Linked DNA regions of Homo sapiens: regions 1 and 3 are each linked to region 2. Evidence: promoter capture Hi-C in 16 types of primary human blood cells and fetal thymus (Javierre and others, 2016). All regions are on one chromosome and are shown on one strand. The core of a region is centred on a gene start or on the middle of the fragment in contact, and the rest is flanking DNA. Distances in the headings are between cores, read along the strand shown. Region 1 has its middle 8.0 kb from the start of KRTAP19-8. Region 2 holds the start of KRTAP27-1 (keratin associated protein 27-1). Region 3 has its middle 30 kb from the start of KRTAP19-8.

Evidence for each region. Contacts are between HindIII fragments. The CHiCAGO score rates a contact against its expected background, and 5 or more counts as called.
Region 1: a fragment that was not itself captured here is called in contact with the fragment with the promoter of KRTAP27-1 in region 2 in 1 of 17 cell types (activated CD4 T cells); the score reaches 5.1 in activated CD4 T cells.
Region 3: a contact is called between a fragment that was not itself captured here and the fragment with the promoter of KRTAP27-1 in region 2, in 5 of 17 cell types (naive CD8 T cells, M0 macrophages, activated CD4 T cells and 2 more). The highest score is 8.5, in naive CD8 T cells.

Annotation. Positions count from the first base shown.
Region 1 is chr21:31,044,657-31,048,372 of GRCh38, forward strand. No RefSeq gene overlaps it. Among named protein-coding and RNA genes, the nearest start is that of KRTAP19-8, 8.0 kb to the left of the region's middle. The HindIII fragment of the contact is 3,221 bases long and covers 1-2,864 here.
Region 2 is chr21:30,335,490-30,338,943 of GRCh38, forward strand. It overlaps KRTAP27-1 (keratin associated protein 27-1), which reads right to left and starts at 2,205. Exons shown (of 1, transcript NM_001077711.1): 1 at 1,524-2,205. The coding sequence starts at 2,179. The coding sequence ends at 1,556. The HindIII fragment of the contact is 10,696 bases long and covers 1-3,454 here.
Region 3 is chr21:31,066,749-31,070,343 of GRCh38, forward strand. No RefSeq gene overlaps it. Among named protein-coding and RNA genes, the nearest start is that of KRTAP19-8, 30 kb to the left of the region's middle. The HindIII fragment of the contact is 2,613 bases long and covers 543-3,155 here.

The sequences.
Region 1 (3,716 bases), core at 4-2,503, 710 kb after region 2:
CCAAAGTGCTGGGATTACAGGCGTGACCTGGTAGTTCTTTATAACAGTCGAAGAATGGACTAATACACCTCCCACGGATGGAATCCACATTGCTGTGCCTGCTGGCTTTTGGCTGAACCACTGAAGCAGCTTTGCTCATAAGTGAGAACATTTGGAAGTGCCAGGGAATGAATGTCTCCCTCCCTCCCACCAGCAGCCCTTAATCACTGACTCTTGGGAGTTAATAAAGACCCAGCTACCTGGCCCCTCCATAGGCTAGTTCTGATGTATGTTTTCCACTATTCCTCCAGTTTCCACGGGAGATTAAGCGCCAGTTACCCACTGCAGGAACTGTCTTAATGGCCCACCCTTTGCTGTCCACCTTCCCCTCTATTTCTCACTTTCCCACTCCCCTACCTCTGTTCCCTCCCCCTCCCAAATAAACTACTCCCAAATAAAATCTTTGTCTAAGGATCTACTTCTGGGAGAAGCCAAACTAAACAGTTCCCATACTAAATATATATATATGTGTGTCTAGTAGACACAGATCACAGAGTTTCTGCTATTAAAAAAAAAACAATGCGTAGAGATTAATGCCACCAGGAAGAAGAAGGATATAATATAGTGAAATCCTTTCGAAGAAGAAAAAGGAAATAGAAAACCTACTGTTTCAGGCTGCTATTTTTTAAAACCATAAAATGTATGGCTTATATCAATAGAAATCTATTTCTCACAATTCTGGAGTCTGGGAAGTCTAAGATCAAGGTGGCAGTAGATTTGGTCTCTGGTGAAGGTCTGCTCCCTCATTCATAGATGGCACCTTCTCACTGTGTTCTCTCATGGTGGAAGAGGCAAGCTAGCTCTCTGGGTTCCCTTTTATAAGGACACTAATGCCATTCATGCAGGCTATGTCCTCACTACCTCATCACCTTCCCAAAGCCCTACCTCCTAACACAATCATCGCAGGGATTAGAATTCCAACATAGGAATTTGGAGGAGACACAAGCATTCAGACTGTAGCACCCACTCTGTATAATGCACTGGAGTATGAAAGAAAGAGTGGAAGAAATTGTAGACACAAGTCCTCACCTTCCCCTTCTCAAGATAGAAGTCTGTAGCATGAAGGACAACTAGAAACATCCAGGCAGGCAGTGTTAGAGAAATACAATTAACAACAACATATCTCCAACCCAGAAAACTTCCCACAAAGGAAGAAGAGGAAGAAAACAATTTCATTATTGAATAAACATTGAACCAGAACGTGGTACACATCACAGGCGACCCACTAAGAAATTGTGAAGACAGAAAGAAGTCTCACCTTTTTATACAGCCAAGCAGATACAGAGTGTTACATACATGTTCTCAAAATAAACAACACCTACGCCTCCATAAGAGGACTTGGCAGCATGATTTGTCACACATGGCTCATCCTAGATTCACTGAGTAACTGCAGTGGCCATCTGTGTTTCCCAATTGGCTTTATTCAAAGGAAAAATAAACTTCTTATATCCTGATGATAGAAGGTAGTTTGGGATCAAGACACCTGCCAAAGTGACAGAGAATTTACAATGACAAGTTTTCTAAAGCAAATGCTCTAAGAAAAAGGAGGTCTCTTCCCTTATTTTCAACAGAAACAATGACACTTTTTTTTTTTTTTTTTTTTGAGATGGAGTCTTGCTCTTGTCGCCCAGGCTGAGTGCAACAGCACGATCTCAGCTCACTGCAATCTCCACCTCCCAAGTTCGGGTGATTCTATTGCCTCAGCCTCCTGAGTAGCTGGGATTACAGGCATCTGCCACCACACCCAGCTAATTTTTTCTATTTTTAGTAGACACGGTTTCACCATGTTGGCCAGGCTGGTCCCGAACTCCTGACCTCAGGTGATCCACCCGCCTTGGCCCCCCAAAGTGCTGGGATTACAGGCCCAGCCTCTCATTTTTATTTGTATTTGCCCTTACAGTACTTGGAAACCCCTACACTTGAGAGGTTTTCATGGAAGACAATTTAGGTGATGCTCCAGTGAACAAGGTGGAGAATTATGGAGACAAGAAGAGAAGGGACAAGGGATCCGATGAAACTATCCTGTGTTGTCTGTTATACAACTTTAGCTTTTCTTGTAAGATGAGGAGTCATTACAGAGTTTTGCCCAGAGGAACGATAGGATTTGGCTTACATGTTAGAGTCACTCATTATTCATAAGTATCTATTAGCAACTCTATTCCTGGGACTGTTCTTGGTGCTAAAGAAGGTACACAAGAAACAGAGCTTTGTTGTAAGGTTTTTTACTCTCCTGATGGGGAAATAACAGGGAAAAGCAGCCACTAGTAACACAGGTCATATAGGCAGCTGTCAGTGTACAGAAAAGGCAAGAAGAAAAGAATACAGAGAAAATGGAAGACTAAGGACTGAAACAGTCACAGAACGCATCAAGGGGAAGACAGAATTTGAGCTGGGCATTAAAGGGTGGTAGTAGTTGGAAGACAGAGAGGAAAATAGTATAACTTAAGGGTAAGGAATGTCTCTGAATATACTGAATTGGATTTGGACAGGTTGGGAAAAACCAGCAAGATTGCAGAAGTCTGATGCTGCAAGAGGCGAAGGGTTACTGATAAGGACAATGAACAGATCATCATGTAACTAGCTAGTAGAAACGTTCCCATTCTCTGCTCTGATATCTTCAACTGGAGCTGAACAGAGTGGCCATATATTTGCATAATGGCCTCCTCCCTTGTTACTTTTTACCAATTAGCTGGGTTTAACAAGAAGCAATTATGACAATTACTTTTAATTACTTCTGCTATTCCCTCCTCACCCTATTCTTCCTTTCCTACCCCTTTGATTAAAAACTCACCCTCATTGTTGTGTAAAACTTTAAATAACTTAGAAGCTTTGAACAAAATGCCAGTTTACTGGAGGATGAGGAAGGGGGCTTCAAGACTGATGGGAACCAAAATTATGTATGATGGTTACTTTTATCTAGCAAACTGACTGGGCCATGGGGTAGCTGATATTCAGTTAAGTATTTTTCCTGGTGTTTCTGCGAAAGTGTTTTGGATGAGATTAACATTTAAGCCAATGGACTAAGTAAAGCAATTGCCCTCCCTAGTGTCAGTGGACCTCATCAAATCAGCTGAAGGTCTAAATAGAAGGAAAAAGCCAACTCTCCCCCAAGTAGGAGGGAATCTCTCCTGCCTGACTGCCTTTTGACTGACATGGGTTTTTTCCTGCCTTCAGACTCACACTGATGCATAGGCTCTTCCTGAGTCTTCGGCCTGCCAGCCTTTGGATTGGTACCACAACAGAGGCTCTCCTGGTTCTCAGGCCTTCAGATTCAGACTGGAACCACACCATCAGCTCTCCTGGGTCTCCAGCCTACCCACTCACCCTGCAGATATTAAGACTGCCCAGCCTCTATAATTGCACGAACCGATTTCTTGTAATAAATCTCTTTCTACATATATACATCCTGTTGGTTCTGTTTATCTAGAAAACACTAATACAGAAATGCATCTGAAAATTTCCCTCCTCTTGCTTTTGGGATGTGGGTTGCCAAGGGGTTGAGAACAGTGAAAGCAGGAGAAGGCTGGAAAGGTGTCATAATACTGGGACTTCTAAAAGCATTTATGGGCTTCCCTCAGGCCCAGAGCAGGGCATTACCCACTCTCATAGGGTTAATAAATGTCGGGGGGAGGTCACAAAACATGAGATTCTTCTAAGTAGCGGCCTATTCACCTTGG
Region 2 (3,454 bases), core at 955-3,454:
TAACTTGCACACAGTCACACAGTTGGAACTTAAACAGCCATCACTAAGCAAAGCTAAGATTCCAGCTCAAGGAAATCCATATTCAGAGTTCATGCTCTCAACCACTACCTTATTTTGCCCTGAAAAAATGTGAGATCCAAGGCCAGGCATGGTGGCTCACGCCTGTAATCCCAGCACTTTGGGAGGCCGAGGCAGGCGGATCACGAGGTCAGGAGATTGAGACCATCCTGGCTAATGTGGTGAAACCCGTTTCTACTACAAATACAAAAAATTAGCCGGGCATGGTGGCAGGCACCTGTAGTCCCAGCTACTCGGGAGTCTGAGGCAGGAGAATGGCGTGAACCCAGGAAGCAGAGCTTGCAGTGAGCCGAGATTGCGCCACTGCACTCCAGCCTGGGTGACATAGCGAGACTCCATCTCAAAAAAAAAAAAAAAAATTGAAAGATCAATTTAAGAACACACCAAAAGTTTCAGAATAGCTAAGCTACCTAAATAAAATTAATCAATTTCAAACATCTGACTCTATGGTCTTATGATGTTCATATGAGTATATTTTCCATCTTCTGTTGACTACCACCATGAGTTATTCTTTTCTGGTTCACACTATAAAAATTATAACAAGAGGATATGTTCTCTTTTCTTCTAAATATTTATACTATTTTCATTAGGTAACAAACGAAGAAACAAAAAGCCTGTAACATAACACCTGCAAAAGGATTGAATAAAAATAATAGTGTGACAAGTCCAAATTTTGCTTCCAAAGAAAGCAAATTTATTTAATACAAAGAATATTTTCCAAACTCAAAAAATACTTAAGAAATAATGAAAACAGGAAAAAAACAAACAACCAAAAAAACAACGGGAACGAAATGAAGTGAAGATTCTAAACTTCAATTCATTCTATTTAAAGGCTTCTGGTTGCTACGTGGTTATAAAGCCCATGGAGGTGAAATTCAAAATTACCTTGCTCTATTCGAACAATAGACTTAATCTTCTAGTTAATTTGAGAATGTTGTGATTCAATGGCTAAAATAACAGATGGCCAGTGAGTAGGCCTGGATTTTAGTTGTGGTTCTGATGTTATTAACTACTTGGGCAACCTCTGATAGAGTTGAACCTATCGTAATTCACAGGACTAGGTAGGCTTTTAGGTTTGGTTCCAATATTTTATGAATTTCTGAGACTAGTAGCACATTACTTAATAAACCAGATCCAATGCTAAGTATTTCCAAAGAAAACAACTTGCAGTTAAAGTGTGATGTTTCCTTTAAGTATTCATGTTATTTCCTGGCTACAGCTCTTATTGCTTAATAACAAATCGTATCCTACTGCTCTAAAATAGCTAGCATGCTTTCCAACCCCAGATTACCACTAGACATACCCAAAAGAAAAACAAGAAAAAAAATCTTGTCTTTGGAGACAGTAGTAAAATAAGACATGTTCATTTACTAACAAACACACACAACATTTTTTATTTAAAGAAATACAAAATATCTAAGTATCTCAAAAATAAATTCATCCAAATGAGAATATAAGCCATCTCCCCTACAGATCTTCACTTACTAGGCAATTGAGAACCACCAGTAACACAGCAAGTTGGTTCAACTCCTGGAGAAGATTCCAGGAGTTGTGGCTCAGGTGCAACATTGACCAGAGGTCTACAGGAACTGGATTCAGGGTTCTGAGACTGACACTGACATTGGCTAGATGCACGTTCCAGAGTTTCGAAATTTTTAGACTTAGAAGTCTTGGGTGGGCAACTGTTTCCCTTGAGGCTTGCAGGTTGGCAGCTCTGGGCTACAAAACCCATCTGCTGAGTGCTTTCTGATTGGCAAGGCTGAGAAACACAAGCCAGCCCTGCTGAAGAACTTTCTGATTGGCACGCTGTCCTTTCGCAGGGCCTGGAATTGGAGTAAGTAGTTTGGACAACTCCGGGGAAGCAGTTACTTTGCACACAGCTATCGTCTGTGAATAAGTCCTGTTCACAATTGGTCATTTGGCAGCTGGTGGTTTCATTGCAGGTTTCTTGAAAGTTGTCCAGGAAACAGGTTCTGCTATGGAAGCTGCTGGGCAAACACAATCTGTCTTCAAAGGTTATAGGATTAGTGCCATGTGTGATGGCAGAGAGTGGTGGGGCATTGTGGAAGCTCCTGAGTGAATGGCAGTGGCTATGAGGCATATTGCTAAAAATCCTTAAAGATGGTCATAAGGACTCAACATGCTGAGTTTGAAAATTAAATTCTTTGGTGCGGCGATTATATACTCAGAAACCTGGGTGTTGGCTTCTCAAGACTTCTTTGCAACTCATTGCTTAAACTAATTTGAAGGATAACATCTCATTACCACTTTGGTTATATATGCAGATGATGTCTTATTAACAAAGATGTAAGTCCATTTTGAATCTTCAAAATGGCTTTTATGTTAGCTCCAAAGATGACTCATTCAAGGTGGGGTTGGTCAAATAAGAGTCTAAACCTGTCCAACCAAGCTAACATTTTTTTTTTTTTTTGCCACCATGACTCTGCACATTGGTAAGTGGACAATGAGAAATGCATGAGGCAGTGGCCAACTGAATACTGATTAACATTTAGCACTGGTTTTGAGAGCTGCCAATGTAGCAGAATGTGGTAATTTGATGTTCAAGACATTTAAAGTTAGAATTGGATCCAGGTTGAGCCCAATCTCATTCCACTCAGATATTGTTCTCTCCAGTGGACCAGAATGTGAGAGGACTTTGTGATCACATTCCTTCTCAGTGTTCATGCAAAGTACTGAGTGTGGCCATTGCCCAATAAATACTTGTCTTTTGCCTAACATTTCGTTTCCCTAATCTCCTTGAAAGCCAAGTTTAAATGCGTCCTTTTCCTGAAGTCTTCCCCAATCTTCCCATTTAGGAGTTATTTCTTCCTTTTCTGAATTACTAATGGATTTAATTCCTTTTTTCTATACTTGACAAAGTGGTGTGTTTACTTGTGTTTGTGCTTCTCAAAGGTTGATTATTTTCCTTTATAATGAACCTTCTTCAGATATTTTTCATCTTTATTCTGTGCTTTTTTTATTGACTGCAGACAGATGATCAGTTCCTATGTTTATCGCATTAGGACACCGTTCTTAGCATAGTTTCATACTCATGGCACAGAGCCAACCAGCACAATTTCTATAACATATTCTATAATATATTTGGCTCAGCTAATGACAATAAAATAGAAGTATAGTCTTAGTGCACTAACTAGACTCCCTTTCTAAGGTCTGAAGAAGCCCAAGAACATTCAGCAATTCTCAGTAATTCTTATGCAAACACTTCCTTGAAAGACTGAGGATATTATAAATTTAAAAGGGCACATCTGAATACTTTCAGCTTTATAGGCTGCACACTCATCTTGTATACAATACCTTTGTAACACACGCAAGTCATTTATAATTTTGAATAACCACACTTGTATGTTTAAAGATC
Region 3 (3,595 bases), core at 599-3,098, 730 kb after region 2:
GGGGGGAGGGATAGCATTAGGAGATATACCTAATGTAAATGACGAGTTAATGGGTGCAGCACACCAGCGTGGCACATGTATACATATGTAACAAACCTGCACGTTGTGCACATGTACCCTAGAACTTAAAGTATAATTAAAAAAAAAAAGGGTAATAACATCACCCAGAGATGGATTAGATGACACATGAGACTTTGTATCCTTTTGGGGCAAGAAGGTTAGCAGGTGTTAGGTTGTTTGGGGGGTGGTTGCATCAAGTTAGAAAGTTAAATATATGTTAAAAAGGTATATATGGTGCCAAGTTAACAATGGGTTGACTACGTAGTTTTATGCATGCCAACTGGTCTACTAGCACTATGATTCCCAGAATTATCTTCTGGGAAACCTGAGCAAGATTTGGAAGGCAGAAGTGAACGGCAGCCATTGACTCTTCAAAGACCATCATTGTTAGTGCAACAAGGGATAGAAGCAGAAGTGCTGGCAGATTCCAGCCCTCATTCATGTTTTCCCTCCTCTGTATCTAGCTCTTCTTCCTGACTGCAAGCTTTGCTGACTGTGATAGGTAATTTTATGTGTCAACTCAGAGGGCATTTTGAGATGAAATTAACATTTAAATCAGTGAACTATTAGGTAAAGTAGATTGCCTTCCACAATGTGGGTGGGCCTCATCCAATACGTTAAAGGCCTGAACTGAACAAAAAGATCAGCCTCCCTGAGCAAGAGGAACTTCTCCAACAGACTGCCTTCAGCCTTTATCTGCACCATCAGCTCTCCAGGATCTCAGACTTGCCAGTCCCCCTGCAGATTTTAGACTTCCCAGCCGTCGTAATCACGTGAGCCAATTCTATAGATAGAAAGATGGGTGGATGGATGGATAGATAGATGATAAACAGATGATAGACAGATGGAGATAGACAGATAGATAGATGATATACAGATAGATGATATACGGATAGATGGGTAGATAGATAGGCAGGCAGGCAGATAGATCCTACTGGTTCTTTCTCTCTGGAGAGCCTGAACACACGGGCCAACAATCTTTCCAGGCCCATAACCAGATGCAAAGGCAACAACAGGGTTCCCAGGCTCCTTCCCAGTTTCATTCCTCAGCTGCTGCCCCTGCCTTCCCACATTCCTTTGTGAACTCTGCCCTTGTCCACTTGCACTAGCATTTCAAAAGGCACGGTTATAGACATTTCTCTGATCCTCCAACCCCTCCTTGTAAACTATACTTCTCCGGCCCCTTCCATAATGGTATAAGGCTTTATTACTATGATAAATCCCTTATTCTATAAAACTCGTAATGGTTCTGCTGTCTTTATTGTACCATGACTGATACAATATATTACCATTTTGTGCAAAAGAAATTGTGCTAACATTCTCAGCATAGGCAGTAAAGCACTCACACTGTAAAATGGTTCTCATTTCTTGTCCCATTCATCCGCTCATTCATTCACTGAGGAAACATTTGCTGAATACCTACCATCGGCCAGGTGCTGTTCTAAGACAGCAGACTTAAAATACACAAAGGGCTGTGATGTGAATATGATCAGCATCTAGAACTATAACCACTGAAGGGAAATTGCCAGGAGGAGATTTCAGTTCAATATTAAGAACTTTCTGACAATTAAAACTGCCTCAAAGGAATGGCCTCTCTGTTCTAAGGTAGTAAAGGCCTAGTACTACAGAAATTACCTAGCAACTTACTTACTTACTTCTGACACATCAGAAGCCCTGATGCATCAGTTAGCAGAGTTTGAATATTCACCAGGTTCAATTTTATATTTATATTTGATGATTCCAATATATTATATGCTATCTGTGAGATTTTGAGACTCTATATTCTGTCTGTATTCTAAGGTGACTATGAGATATAGTAGGATTATATAGTAGTCTCAGAATAATACCAAAAAGGGAAGAGAACAGGTGTCTTTTGTTTACCATATGCCAGGCAATATTCATTAGTTGTTTTATAATCCTCCCAAAACTCTAAAAAGTAAGTGTTATTATCCCCTCTCTATGGATAAAGACACTGAAATTCAGCAAGTTATAGTGACTTATCCAAACATCTCAGCCACCAATCAGAAGAAACTGAAAACTTTCTGACCCCAAACCTATGTTTTTTCTTATGCTGTATCACCCTCAAGTTTCAGCATTTTTATGTAAGAATTAGTATGGGTCGGGCACAGTGGCTCACGCCTGTAATCCCAGCACTTTGGAAGTCCCAGTCAGGTGGATCACCTGAGGTCAGGAGTTCAAGACCAGCCTGACCAACACGGAGAAACCCCATCTCTATTAAAAATACAAAATTAGCCAAGCATGGTGGCGCATCCCTGTAATCCCAGCTACTCGGGAGGCGGAGGTTGCGGTGAGCCGAGATCGTGCCATTGCTCTCCAGCCTGGGCAACAAGAGTGAAACTCTGTCTCAAAAAAAAAAAAAAAAGAATATGATTACTATTCATAATTATTGTAAGATTATTAACTTTCACATAATAAAGCATAATTCCCCATTTTTCAGGTCAAATCTTAATGCATGCATATTTCAATATATCTTAGAATATATATTGTATTAAATATATTAAGACAATAACACTACATCATTTGTCAAATGTTTTGTATGTTCCAACCACTCCAAAGTGCTTTACATTCTCAATTCATCCTCACAGGAGTCCTGCAAATGGAGATATTTTTTAGCCTTATCCTACAGATAAGAACAATGAAAATCAAAGAGGCTAAGACATGTTTCTAAAGTTGATCAGCAACTAGAAAGTGGCAAGGCTGGAATTCCAATTTTGTTCTGGTTGACTTTGAAGCTCCTTTTCCATGTTCTGGGTACCCTGGCTTACTCTCTCCCTTGGGCTGGGGCGGGGATGGTAGATTTTTCTTACCATATTTTGCAAGATGACTTGCTCTTTCTCCTATATCTTCCAAGATTATTTGCTGCCTTCTCCCTCTGGTTGTCTCCTTAAACAGCTTCTTGTTTATTTCTATAACAGTTTCTACTTTCAGCCCCATTTAAAATAAAAATTAGGAAGACTCACCCCATCAAGCCATTTCAATATGTGGAATTGGTTGAGCAAATAAAAAAAATTTGAGAATACTGAAGTTGCCATGGATGACATATTACTACCATTCGTTGTAATTTAGGTGTTGTAAGCTTTTTTTGTTTTTTCCACTTTGCTCAATCAAGCACTCCTAACTTGATGGTCTTGCTTCTAGCTATGATTCAAATCCACGGAGGATTTCATTTTGACTTTAAACTATAGCTGATTTGCTGTAGGAGATGCTTAAGACAACCAGAGATATAAATTGCCTCATCTACCGCCAAGGGAAAAATGATTGTATCTTGTAATATGAACCTCAGGATAGGGACGAGCTTGTTGGCTATATACTCCTGTTACCAACATCAGCTACAAAGAAGAAAAATAGAATTGAGGAGAAGATCATTTGTTTTCAGCTCATTACAGGGAAAGGAAAACTACGTTAGTATATATGATTCATACATAAAGAGGAACATATACATAAACACACAGTGGGAGAGAAGCAAGCTAGCATTTATTAAGTCTTAATATATACCAAGAGCTTCAGGTATCTT